Regions from separate parts of the Homo sapiens genome. Here region 1 is linked to region 2. Evidence: promoter capture Hi-C in human tissues and cell types (Jung and others, 2019). All regions are on one chromosome and are shown on one strand. Each heading gives the region's core, a stretch centred on a gene start or on the middle of the fragment in contact. The rest is flanking DNA. Distances are from core to core; before and after follow the strand shown.

Region 1 (6,150 bases), core at 3,534-6,033, 460 kb after region 2:
GGCACACAGTGACATCAGGACAACACAATCGCCCCACTACCAGTTACCGGTATTCCAGTTTAACCCCGTTTCTCTCCCCCCGCCAATTTTCCTCCCCATAATTAACTACGCGCCCACCCTCTCGCCAGCCCCCTCTTCTCCCTAACCAAGAGAAGCCGCTGCTGTCCTATTCTTGAAACCGCCACGGACCATTAGTTACATATTTGAACCAATAAGGAAACACTTACCGAGCGCTGCTGTCACTCTCCCTCTCTCCCTCTCTGCCTCTCTCTCTCCCACTCTCTTTCTCGTCTTCCCTCATTCTGTGCCGCTGCCGAGCCTGTCTCAGCTCCACACACACACACATATACTTTATATAAATTCAAAAATAAAAATAATTATAATCATCCAAAAGCCAAACAAAATTAAGGAGAGTTGCAAGAAGGGGGCAGGAGGAAGAGCCTGGGAGAGAGGAGGGGCGGAGGCATCTGCAGCTCCCAAGCTCAACTCCTGCTCCTGCATTCCTCCTGCCCCTTGGGGGCCAGAGGGTCGGGAAGGAAGAGAGAGATGCCCTCAACTTCTGTCTCTCCCCTCCCATCCCCACCCTCCCCAGCTGCCCCCAGCTTCGGCAACTCCACCTGGGAGGAAAAAAAATTAAATGGGGGAAAAATAATTATTAATCAGATTAATTTAAAAAAAATACTGCTAATGAAGGGAGCGCCCAGGGCAGGTTTCCCTGGCAATGGTTAGGCTCTTACAGGGAGGACTGTTCTGCGGAGCGCTCGGAACGGACAAACCACAATAAAAAGTTCACGTTCATGGATGGAATCCACATGACTTCTTGTGGCCAATCCAACTTGTGAGTCGATCGTAAACTTTTATTACTCAGCTGTAAATTTTCTGCAAACAACCGGGAATGCGATGCATTTGTGTAGCGTGTGCAAATGGGCGCCGCGGTCGCCATGTTTACCCAATTCTCTCATAGAGGGAGCATCCCCGGACCCCCACCCCACCCCTACCCCCACCCACCGCCCACTCCCCACGGGCCAGGCTGCTGCAGGCGAGCGCAGAAAGAGCTGAGGGCGGACGCCCAGGCGAAAGAAAGCTTCAAGCACTGAGGGTCGGTTGCCTCTCCTGGCTTGCCGAGTTTTAAATATTGTCCTTAATAAATGGGGGCATTAAGGTTGGATCAGGCGGAATTCAAAGCTTTGCAAAGATTTGTGGCCTTGAGGCAGTGATGGCTGGTGAATTGCAGGGATTGAAAGGGTGCCTCCCTACCCCTACCTTTTTTTTTTTTTTTTTTTTTTAGTAAGAGAACAACATCCCCTCTATGCCGTACCCCTGAAAGCTCCTACTCCACCCTAGACAGGAACAGTAGTGGAAGACCACTGGCAGCCACCCAACCAAACCTGACCTGGAGTGGTCTGAAGAACCTAGGGGACTAGACCTACCCTGGGCAATCCTGCAGTGCAGCAGGAGAGGTGAGAATTGGGGTCAACTTCTAGGACCCTCAAAACGACCCACATCCCCGGGGTCCCTTTCTTAGAGAGAATGACATTTTCCCCCAAGACCATCCCTAGTTTCCCTTCCCAGTTCAAATGGTGGCTTATTTGAAATCTTTTTACAATTAAAAATAAAATTAAAGCCCAAGATCTTGGTCTCTACTTCCTTTTTGCGGGGAGGGGTGCAAGGCAGTAAGCCTTTTGGATCGTGTCAGATTGCCCATACCCACCTGCCTTTCTCAGAAAAATTTCCTGATTCAATGTCTGGGCAGCTGGGATGTACTACCGAGGCCTGAAAAAATAACCTTTTACTGCCCTGAATTCCACCTTCTGTGCTAAAATTTCGAGCAGCCTGTTTTTCCAGACCCCTAATTTTGAAGGTGAGTCCAGAATAAATTCCCCCATAGAGACTATTTGCCGGGGGAGGGGTTGCAGGCAGGTCACTCTCCCCACGGGCTCGAGATTTGAAGGCCGGCATCTCTCCACTTGGTCCCGCATCAAGCTGGCATGGGAATCTCAATGGTTGGGTGCCTCAACCCTGACCAAGAGGGGATACCTCATGCCTTCCCCAGACTTCCTCCATAGTAAGAAAAGCAGTTCCCTAGGCCGGATGCAGGGACCTCGTTTCTTTTCACAAACCCACCCATAAATTTTATAACAGGTAGTTAAAAATTACGACAAGGAAGCGCTGGCCCAGCTTTTCACAATGGGCAGCGGGGAGAATGGGACGGCGCTGCGGGCAGCTCACCGGAAATTTTACTTCTAGACTGTGGCACAACCTGTCCTGAATTCTCCCTAATTGGGCGGGGTAACTTTCCCAGCCAGCAGGCAGTCATTAGGGCATCTTATCTGGGGAAGATAAGACTGGGGAGACCAAACCACTCGCCTATCCAAGGGTCCCTCAAGGAGCCCTTCAGGACGCTCACTACCTCTCTCACCCACCCCCAGATCTCTTGCAGGTCCGCACCTTCCTTGGCTGATGCAATGAGGGAGTGGGGAGGAAAAAAAATTTAATCCAGAGAAACGAATTTGCCCCCCAACTTAATAGCTGCATTATTCCAGCTCTACGGTTGAGATTAGAATAATAAATTCAAGGAGCAATGAGCGAGATGCTTCAACTCAGCATTTTGAAAGATACTATTTTTCACAAATCACAAATGGCTTTCGGAAGCCACTTTGATTGGCTAATAAAAAAGTAAAGAATGGGAGAGAAAGTCCTATCTGCAGCAGCCGAATGGTCCCCATTCCGGTAATGGGACGGCGGGAGCATTTGGGAGGACGCGATTCTAAAGAGAGCGCATCCCGCTCACAATTACGTTCCCCCATAAAACGGGTTTTTACCTCCATTTCTTTCCAAACGAGAAAACAGAGGCGGTGGGCAGGAGGGGTGGGGGAGCGGGTACTGCATGAGGGGGTGGCTGGGGCTCCCTCGGCTTAGCCCTCTCCATGCCTGGCATCTCGAGTAAAGCCGGGCGCCAGACGCACCCCGCCCTCCGACGCGCCGGGCTTGGGGCCACGGACATTGCTGAACAGGACAAGGGATAAATGGCACATTTGGTGTGGGGAAAAGGCGGCGAGGCCCTTCGGAGCCATTTAATGCTGGGTTCATTCCGCTAGGCTACTGGGCCAGATATTTTTATTAATAGCAATCATAATTCCACGTTTAAAAACGAAACGGGACCTCAGCCATCCCTCGGAGTATGGAGGACACGCCTGTGGGAAGGCCTGAGGTCTGAGCGAAATGGCCTCTTTTCTGGCTTCCCTGGTGGGTAGCCGGTGTCTCCCACTGAGAACAGGTTACCTGGCTGGTGCCGCTGCTCACAGCAGGGACCCCAGGTTAGAGAAGATTTCCCGGAGCTCCTGCTCAAAGCTGCCCCAGCTGCCTGCAGCCTGTGCTTCCAATTCACAGCCTTTCTCGGACTGCAGGAGTCCCCCTGTGAAGGAAGCCCGACTCAATTCTCTACTCAGGCCCGATTTTCAGGCCCGGTTTGCGTGGGGACCAGTGACTGGGACCTGGGTGAAATTCCACAAAACAAGAGTTGGCCTGGGCCTAGGTCTGGGAAAATCATTGACCAGGAGCTAGACAGATGAGGGGTGGGGAGGACAGAGAGAGAGAGAGAGAGAGAGAGAGAGAGAGAGAGAGAGAGAGAGAGAGAAAGAAGAGAAGAGAAGAGAAGAGAAGAGAAGAGAAGAGAAGAGAAGAGAAGAGAAGAGAAAAAGAAAGAAAGAAAATCTGGCCTCAAAAATATTTCAGCCTTCGGGGGTCTGGTTTTTAAGACCAGAAGATCCCTCCCCTCCCTTTTCCCCTCTCCTGACTGAGTCAGAAGACTTGTATCTCTGGAATTTGGGATTATTTGACCAGAATCTTATTGGCATAAACAGAATTTTTAAGTCCAGGACTCTCCAGAGAGAAGTGAGAGACCCTTCTACCCCCTGGGTCCCTGAGCCTTCAATTCTTCATTTTGGGGAATGAAGATACCAATAAAGACGCCCTCTTACCCCGCTGTGACTGGGGTGGCAGGATGTCCACTCAGCAGGCCCATCCTCCAGGCCAATGGCCCACACTATGGGGGCTGGGTAAGCTGACCAATTGCCAAGGTGAAGTGGGGAGTGGACTTTAAACCGTCTGAACAGAAGTTGGAGTGGATGCAAGCGGGCTGAATGACAGTGATGACAATCTTCCTGTGCAGAGGATTGAATGTGAATTTCAGGATGTGGGCTCAGGCTGGTTGCCTACGAGCTCACTTACTTTCCCCTTCCTTTCTCCTCTCCTTCAGGCTTAAGCTTCCTCACCCTCCATTCTTAGCATCCCCCATCTTCAGGCAAGCCCTGCAGACAGGCCAGCCAGTTGCCCTGAGCCTCACACATCCCCACCCGGTTCATTATTCTAGTGCTGGGTGCTGGGTGCTAAGGTCTGGCCACAAGGGGCATGCGGAGATCAGAAGGAATCCCACTATCTCATCCTCAGCCCCAGACCCTGGAAGAAAAAGTCATAGTTGCATAGGGCAGATTCTTTGTCTGGGCCCAGCCCAAGGCTGAGGAGGAGGAGGGTGGATGAGTGAGGAAATCTTTCTTCCCATTGGGATCCTGGCGTCTGGAAACCCACTTTGTTTGGAGCCAAGATTCCCCCAAGGGCATACCTATAGACTCCTTACTCTCTCAACCAATGGACTGCTCCTTTTCTTCCTCCTCTCAACCCCTCACCCCTTTCACCTGCCCTCCCAGGCCAGCATGCTTTCTCAATTCCCAGGCTTCTCTCCACGTGAGTTTCTGAACCCCAAAGCCAGAGCAGTGAAGCAGACCTTTTCCAGAGAGTTGGACAGGGGGATAAGGAGAGAGAAGGTAGAGAATAGGGAAGAGCTGTGGAGAAAAAGCAAGTCATTCCAGCTTCTATTATTTTTCTTCTTCTTTTTATTATTATGACTCACGTATACAATACAAAGTACTTGGACCAGGAACAGGGCTGTCGGGACACAAAATCTACATTCATAGCTGGACATAAAGACAAATGACAAAAAATTATTATTATAGATATATTTTTAACATTTTTTTCTTTCGAGCACATTGCATAAACAGAGAATTCAAGACAGAGTTAACTATACATTCAGTGCAATTTAGTTCTACTCTACTGGGGTTAGAAGCACAATAAAAGCGCACAGGACCGGCGGGCTAGGCAGTCTCAGTTGTTGGGTTTTCTTAGTGAAATAAGCAGCAACAAACGACAACAAAACCGCATTACAAATACTCTCAAAGCAGGATTTCTTTCTATAGGTAGTGATAAAATACGCTGGAGGTTTCTTTCTTTCTTTTTTTTTTTTTTGATTTTTATTTTTTTCTCTTTTTTTCTCCTATAGCAGGATTTTAAAATTTTTCTCTTTTTCTTTTTCAAGATTATTGCAGGTTCCCTTTAGGTAGTATGTTAAAGATTTATTATTATTATTTTCGTGATTATGGTGATTTCTGAGCACTAACACTAATGCAGCTCAGAGGAAGGCGGGCCCAACAGAATAGAAATCAAACAGCGAAGGAGAGGAAGGCATGGGCCCGAGTGACCATGGGATGGTTAGGTAGGATTTTAGAGGCGACTGCAGGCTCCTATCTACCCTTCTGGAAATGGGGGGAGGGGAAAGACCCACATCTCCTTCAGGTTTCCATCAGGTTCCTAGAGAAAGTCAAGGGGGTTTTTCTAAGCAGGGAGCCCTGGGGAGGGGGAGGGGGAGGGGGAGGGGATATTCCTTGCTTTTTTCCTTATTTCTTTACATTTGTCTTCCTTTCCTTTCTTCATTTTTTTCTGTCCTTTCCTTTTTAGAAAAAGTACATCTAGTACACTAGCCTTAGCATAAAAACAAAACCACAAGTCCTTTTCTGCATTTCGAGGGGGCTCCCCTCTAAAATAAATACCAGAGAAGCAGGGAGGTGGGAGTGTGGTGAGAGACAGACCGAGGAGCACGGAGGCCAGGTCTCAGACCTTAAAATCCAGGAAGGACTCAGAAGGGTGGGGGCAGGGACAAGTGTGTGTGGGGCAAGGAGTGAGACAGAGAGTCCGAACTTTTCACTGTTTCTCCGTCTCCCCCCTCCAGCCCCCAAACAAATAAAGAGTGGGGGAAGTCCAAAGGTAATAAAACCAGAGCTGCAAGTATCTGACAGGTAGTTAGAGTTGTGAGTGTCA
Region 2 (5,887 bases), core at 2,817-5,316:
GGTTCAAGCGATTCTCCTGTTTCAGCCTCCTGAGAAGCTGGGACTACAGACAGACACCGCCATACCCGGCTAATTTTTTTTTCTTTTTTTTGTATTTTTAGTAGAGATGGGGTTTCACTATGTTGACCAGACTGGTCTCAAACTCCCGACCTCAGGTGATCTGCCCATCTCGGCCTCCTAAAGTGCTAGGATTACAGGCGTGAGCCACCACGCCCAGCCGAACCCTCATTTTGAAAGAATTTGCAACTGAATTTATTGAATAATTTTTCCATTTTTAATTATACACCCAACTGCCAAACAGAAATCATAATTAGATGAGAGAAAAATTAATAATTAGATGAGAGAACCAGGACTTGATTAATAAAACCTAAGCCAGAAACAAAAAAATATATTTTGGTCTTTTGACGGGCAAAAGTTTTAAGTTTTATTAGGGTTGTCTGAAAACAGAAAGTTTCTAAAGAACCTCAAGGACTACTGGAATGCCTTCAATCCTAAAATCTGAGAAAACTATCTTCCTAACAAAGGGTTTTTTCCAATAACTAAGAGAATAGATCTATTTATTCATTAGTTCAGATATTTTATTTTTACTATTATTAATTCTTTCGTTTTAAATTTTTCTTCTTTGAGACAGTCTTACTCTGTCGCCCAGTCTGGAGTACAATGAACTGCAAACTCAGCTCACTGCAGTCTTGACCTCCTGGGCTCAAGGAATCCTCCCACCTCAGCTTCCCGAGTAGCTGTGACTACAGGCACCCACCATCAGGCCTAGCTAATTTTTGTATTTAGAGAAACAGAGTCTCATCATCTTGCCAAGGCTGGTCTCAAACTACTGAGCTCAATCAATCCACCCGCCTCAGCCTCCCAAAGTGCTGAGATTACAGGCATGTGCCACCGCACCCAGCCAACTATTATTAATTCTAAGAATATAATCTATAGGAGGCTGGGGGTGGTGGCTCACACCTGTAATCTCAGCAACTCTGGAGGCTGAGGTGGGAGAATCACTTGAGGCCAGCAGTTCGATACCAGCCTGGACAATATAGCGAGATCCCCACCCCCAATCTCTACAAAAAATGTATACACACACACACACACACACACACACACACACACACACACACACACAACATTTAGAGGTAAATGCTAGTATATACACAGATAGAACCAGCACGGATCAGATTCAGTTTAGGGTATTAATTCCCAATAGCTCCTAGAATGACCCTTGTATAAAATGCCTTGTCTCATTTTTTTTTTCCTTTTCAAATATGATCAACCTGGCTGGAAAACCAGTCTAAAAGAAAGCTAAGCAGGGACCTCAGACAAAGCAGAAAATTTATAGTTAGAAAGGAATGAACAAAATACTTAAGAATAGAAAGAACAGATGTGTGGTGCATTTTTATTTCAAAATCACCATTGAAAAACAGGTTTGATTTTTGCTTGTTTGAAAGTTGGTTGGCTTATTCACAGGTGCTAAATGAAACAGCATTATCAGTTGAGGATCCTGTCATTCTGACAAGGCATTACTACTGAATGCAGTGAAGCCTGACTTTGGATTCTGGTTTGGTACCCATTCCCCTATCCTCCCAAGCCCTTAGCTCTTTCTTCCTCAGAAATTTCAATCTGCAGGTATCTGAATAAAATGTATTTATGGGTCACAGTAGCACTGTCAACAATTTCACCAGATTACTGCAATGTAAAGCCTGAAAAAATATTTCATTTCAAATCACACTGGCCCCAACAATCTGCATTAATGATACTGTGATAAAATCAGAGGTTTAGGATTTCATGAAAATTGTTTTAAAATATTTCCTAACAATCTAAAACTGATTTGCCAAAACAACTTTTTCCAAAATGATTAGTGCTAAGCTTGCAATGAAGCTTTCCTTCTTAGCAATTATCTTTCGCAAACCACTTTAACAGTTTGCTCCTCCTTCAAATGAATCATCCAGGCCATGGGTGAAAGAATGGCTTTTTTGATTTCAAAACAATGCCTAGGTCAGTTGTTCTCAGCCCTGGCTACACATTAAATTCATCTGGGTAGATTTTTAAAAATAACTATGCCTGGCTCTTTCACATTAATTGGTGTGGGATGGGAAGTTGGCATGGTATGTCTTAAAAGCTCCCCTGATGATTCTAAGGTGTAGACAAGATTAAGAACCACTAGCCTACAATGGCTTGAGCCTGGCTTCCATCAACACTTGGTTCTTTTTAGTGTCTTAATCTGAACTGATGGCTGTGGAGCAAACTCTCTTCTAGTAGGAAAAAAAGGTCGGGGGGAGGGGGTGCGGAGGGAGTAACAACAATAAACGCTCACAAATTAATCATGTAAAACGAAAACATCCCTTGCCCGGCGCAGTGGATCACACCTGTAATCTCAGCACTTTGGGAGGCCGAGGCAGGCAGATCACCTGAGGTCAGGAGTTTGAGACCAGCCTGGCCAACATGGTGAAACCCCCGTCTCTACTTAAAAAAAAAAAAAAAAAAGCTGGGTGTGGTAGTGCCTGCCTGTAGTTCCAGCTTCTCAGGAGGCTGAGGCAGGAGAATCACTTGAACCCAGGAGGCGGAGGTTGCAGTGAGCCGAGATCATGCCACTGCTCTCCTGCATGGGCGACAGAGCGAGACTCCATCTCAAAAAAAAAAAAGAAGAAAAAGAAAATGCCCCACTGATCCTTTTTACTAAAGCTACATTCAGTTTTTGTCAGGGTAGTCCTCTCAAGTCCTATTTGGGCTCTACACCACTGAAATGCTGTAGAAATCCCAATATTTCACTGCCCAGACTAATCACCCAGACTGCCTCCTACATCTTGAACAGCACAGAATGTTTTGTCATATCTTTTACTTCTTGGTTTTGAAAAATATTACCACCAGATCTACTTGTAGTGTCAACACCTTCCTTTTTTTGTCTAACCTTCAAAGGCTACAAGTCCCTTTTCTCTATAATGCCTTCCCAGGTCATTTCAGGCCCCATTAATTTTTTTCCTTACAGGAATTTACAGTCTCTACCACTTTTTTTGGCATTTTTTGTACTGCTATTAAACCTTTCATCCACTTTGGGAGTCGTTTTTCTAAGCACTCTGGGGACAAGAACTGCAGCTTACACTTTTTTTCCCCAGAACAAAGCCTCACACTACGTTTGGTTTTCCCTTAACAAGTTGTAACCTTCCGGCCTTCTTGTCCTCTCCAACTCTTCATTGAGCTCTCTCCCCAACTCTAAAACTCGCTTTCATCAGGCAGCAACAACCATCATCCTACCAAGCATTCTCAGATAGTTAGTGCCTTTTGAATTTTGGGATTTTACAACACATTCTAAACAAGAACAGCCAGACACAAAATTCCTGTCCTTGGTGATTGTTTTGTGGCTGCACTGCGTATCTCCTTTATAATTCCTCTTCTCTTCCCTCAAAATCTAAATTACCTTTCTATCTAGACAACTTCCACAAACAAGGCTTCTTTCTAGGCAGCTCCCCACCTCTAACCAGTTCCATCAGTCCCATTCCCTCAGGCGCCATTTTTTTTTTTTTTTTTTTTTTTTTCCTGAGACGGAGTCTCACTCTGCCGCCCAGGCTGGAGTGCAGTGGTGCAATCTCGGCTCACTGCAGCCTCCGCCTCCCGGGTTCAAGCAATTCTCCTGCCTCAGCCTCCCAAGTAGCTGGGATTACAGGCGCCCGCCACCACACCCAGCTAATTTTTGTATTTTTAGTAGAGACGAGGTTTCACCATGTTGGCCAGGCTGGTCTTGAACTCCTGAGGTAATCGCAGGTGCCCATTTCTAAGTGCTCATCTGCCTTTTCTAAGATGGCCGCCACAAAACCCAGGGAAAGAAATGCGAGTTCTACCCTCTCAAGGCCACTGTTGTTCTGGGGGCCAGGGGAGGATGGCCCCAAAGATGGGGTGCCCAAGGAGGAGATCCTCGTGGGAAAGGGTCATCAGGGAGCTGACCCTAGGGGCTCACAGGTGAACTCCACAGCTGATCCACCCTGCCCCACACTCAGCCAGAACCGAGACTCCCAGTCACAGGAAGTGCCGGCCCCTCGCCCCACCTCCCAACGTTAGGCGCCGGAAGTGGCCGTTGCTGGGGCTTGCGTGGGAGGAAGGTGACTGTGAGGAAGGTGTGTGTCCACCGAGGTAAGGAAAGGCACCCCGGGGCGCCTCTAAGCAATTCCTATTTTGCGTACCGGGATACCTTCACCTTCTAATATCCTCATTTCGCTTTTCTGCTGGTAGCCTTCAGCCTTGTGGGCTCTCAATGCAGCTATTTTGGCTACCAACCTGTTTCGCTGCATTGCCCACTCGAGGGCCTCCTTGGCGCCTTTTCTATGTTTTTTTTAAGTTAACCACCTCCCCCACTTTCTCTTATTTAGTCTCATTGATTAAGTCTACTGTGATTTTGTTGTTGTTGTTGTTGTTTAAAGGAAGAAAAATGATTCTTTTACTAAGGCCGGAATTCTGTTAAGCGTTTAACCAGTAGCCGCCGACTACATCCATACCCTAAACTTGATTGCTTCCGGCGTAGCTTGTCTATTTCACCGTGATCTAGTAGTAGGGAAAAGGTAAAGAATCCCGTTAACAGTTTGATGCGGAAGATACTTAAAACAGACACGGCTAAGTGATGGTACTGTGAATTCCAGTGCCCCTAGTGTACTGTAATTCGTCCTTTTGTCCGGGAAGAATAGGTTGGCTTCCTACAAGCTGCTGAATCTGGTGCTCATCACTTAAAATCAAGAAACATACTTGGTTCTTCCTTCCAAAACTCTTATTTTTAATGAAAAAGTATGAAGTAACTATGTATAAGTGAAATATATACAAAAAGACGGTGGGGATTTCTTGATCCAAACATAAATATGAAAAATATTTTTAAGACAAATTCACTAATGATTGTCATTAACAAATGGGCTCAGTAGCAAAAAAACTAGAGTTCTAGCTGATCACTTGTATTTCCTATCATAGGTTCTAACGCTGCTTATGTCACAGAATGGGGGGAGGGGTGGTGAGGAGTGTAGAATTGTGTGAGGGGCCAAAGGAGAGCATGCTCTAGAGACAGACAATTTTCAGAAGTTTCGTATGGGGATGGTTTTATATAAATTCAGGTTTTTCCCACAATAATAAATGTATTTAGTCTCAGTGCTCAATAGAAGAGATTTCTAATAGAAAAGGATTCAAACTGTGAAACCATTTCTCTTTTAATGTTTCACATTCCTGTTACAGATTTGTTCTCTTGTGACTCTGTTATCCATAATATGGACAGTTCTTGAGTCCTAACATTGAGAGGTTTTCCCTTAGTGCATAGAGGGAATGAGTATTAATTGGAGAAGCTTAAAGTATTGCCACTTTAGCACTGAAGATTGGGATGAGAGGAGGTGAAACCTCACTAGAAAAAGGGACAATGTTAGTGTGGCCCTTCCTGATCATGTTTAAGAAAAGTCATGAAAATGGTGAACTAGTGTTTCCAAGCATATTGGAAGGGTTGAGTGTATACTGTCTGTCAAAGACTTCCAGCATTTCCAGGTCCTAGAGAGGAACAAGACTGGTAACCTGCCTATCTGTATTTTTAAGAACCCAGGAGGAAAGCTTTATAATAGAACATTATTTCTGTGTTTATGTATAAGGGGTTTTTTGTTTTTTTAAAGACAGGATCTCACTCCATTGTCCAGGCCAAGTGCAATGGCACGAACCTCATAGCTCCTGGACTTAAGTGATCTGCCTGCCTTTGCCTCCTGAGTAGCTGGGACTACAGGCATGAGCCCCCATGCCTGGCTAAGTTTGTTTTTTTGTTTGTTTGTTTGTTTGTTTTTGGGGGGGGGTTGTTTTGTTTTTTGTAGAGACGTAGTCTTGCTTTGTTGCCAGGCTAGTCTCAAACTCCTGGCTTCAAGTGATCCTCCTGCCTCAGCCT

Evidence for each region. Contacts are between HindIII fragments. The study calls those that stand out against the background at their distance.
Region 1: a fragment that was not itself captured here is called in contact with the fragment with the promoter of GTSF1 in region 2 in 1 of the 25 tissues and cell types used here (IMR-90 fibroblasts).

Annotation. Positions count from the first base shown.
Region 1 is chr12:54,011,492-54,017,641 of GRCh38, reverse strand. It overlaps HOXC8 (homeobox C8), which reads right to left. Exons shown (of 2, transcript NM_022658.4): 2 at 4,873-6,150. LOC124902939 (a long non-coding RNA gene) reads left to right here. Exons shown (of 2, transcript XR_007063323.1): 1 at 1-838; 2 at 1,289-1,629. It also overlaps a transcript of HOXC4 not described here, a transcript of HOXC5 not described here and a transcript of HOXC6 not described here. Among named protein-coding and RNA genes, the nearest start is that of HOXC8, 5.6 kb to the right of the region's middle. The HindIII fragment of the contact is 4,116 bases long and covers 2,726-6,150 here.
Region 2 is chr12:54,471,781-54,477,667 of GRCh38, reverse strand. GTSF1 (gametocyte specific factor 1) reads left to right here and starts at 4,066. Exons shown (of 9, transcript NM_144594.3): 1 at 4,066-4,122. RefSeq lists enhancers at 3,738-3,797, 3,463-3,989. The HindIII fragment of the contact is 6,752 bases long and covers 1-5,887 here.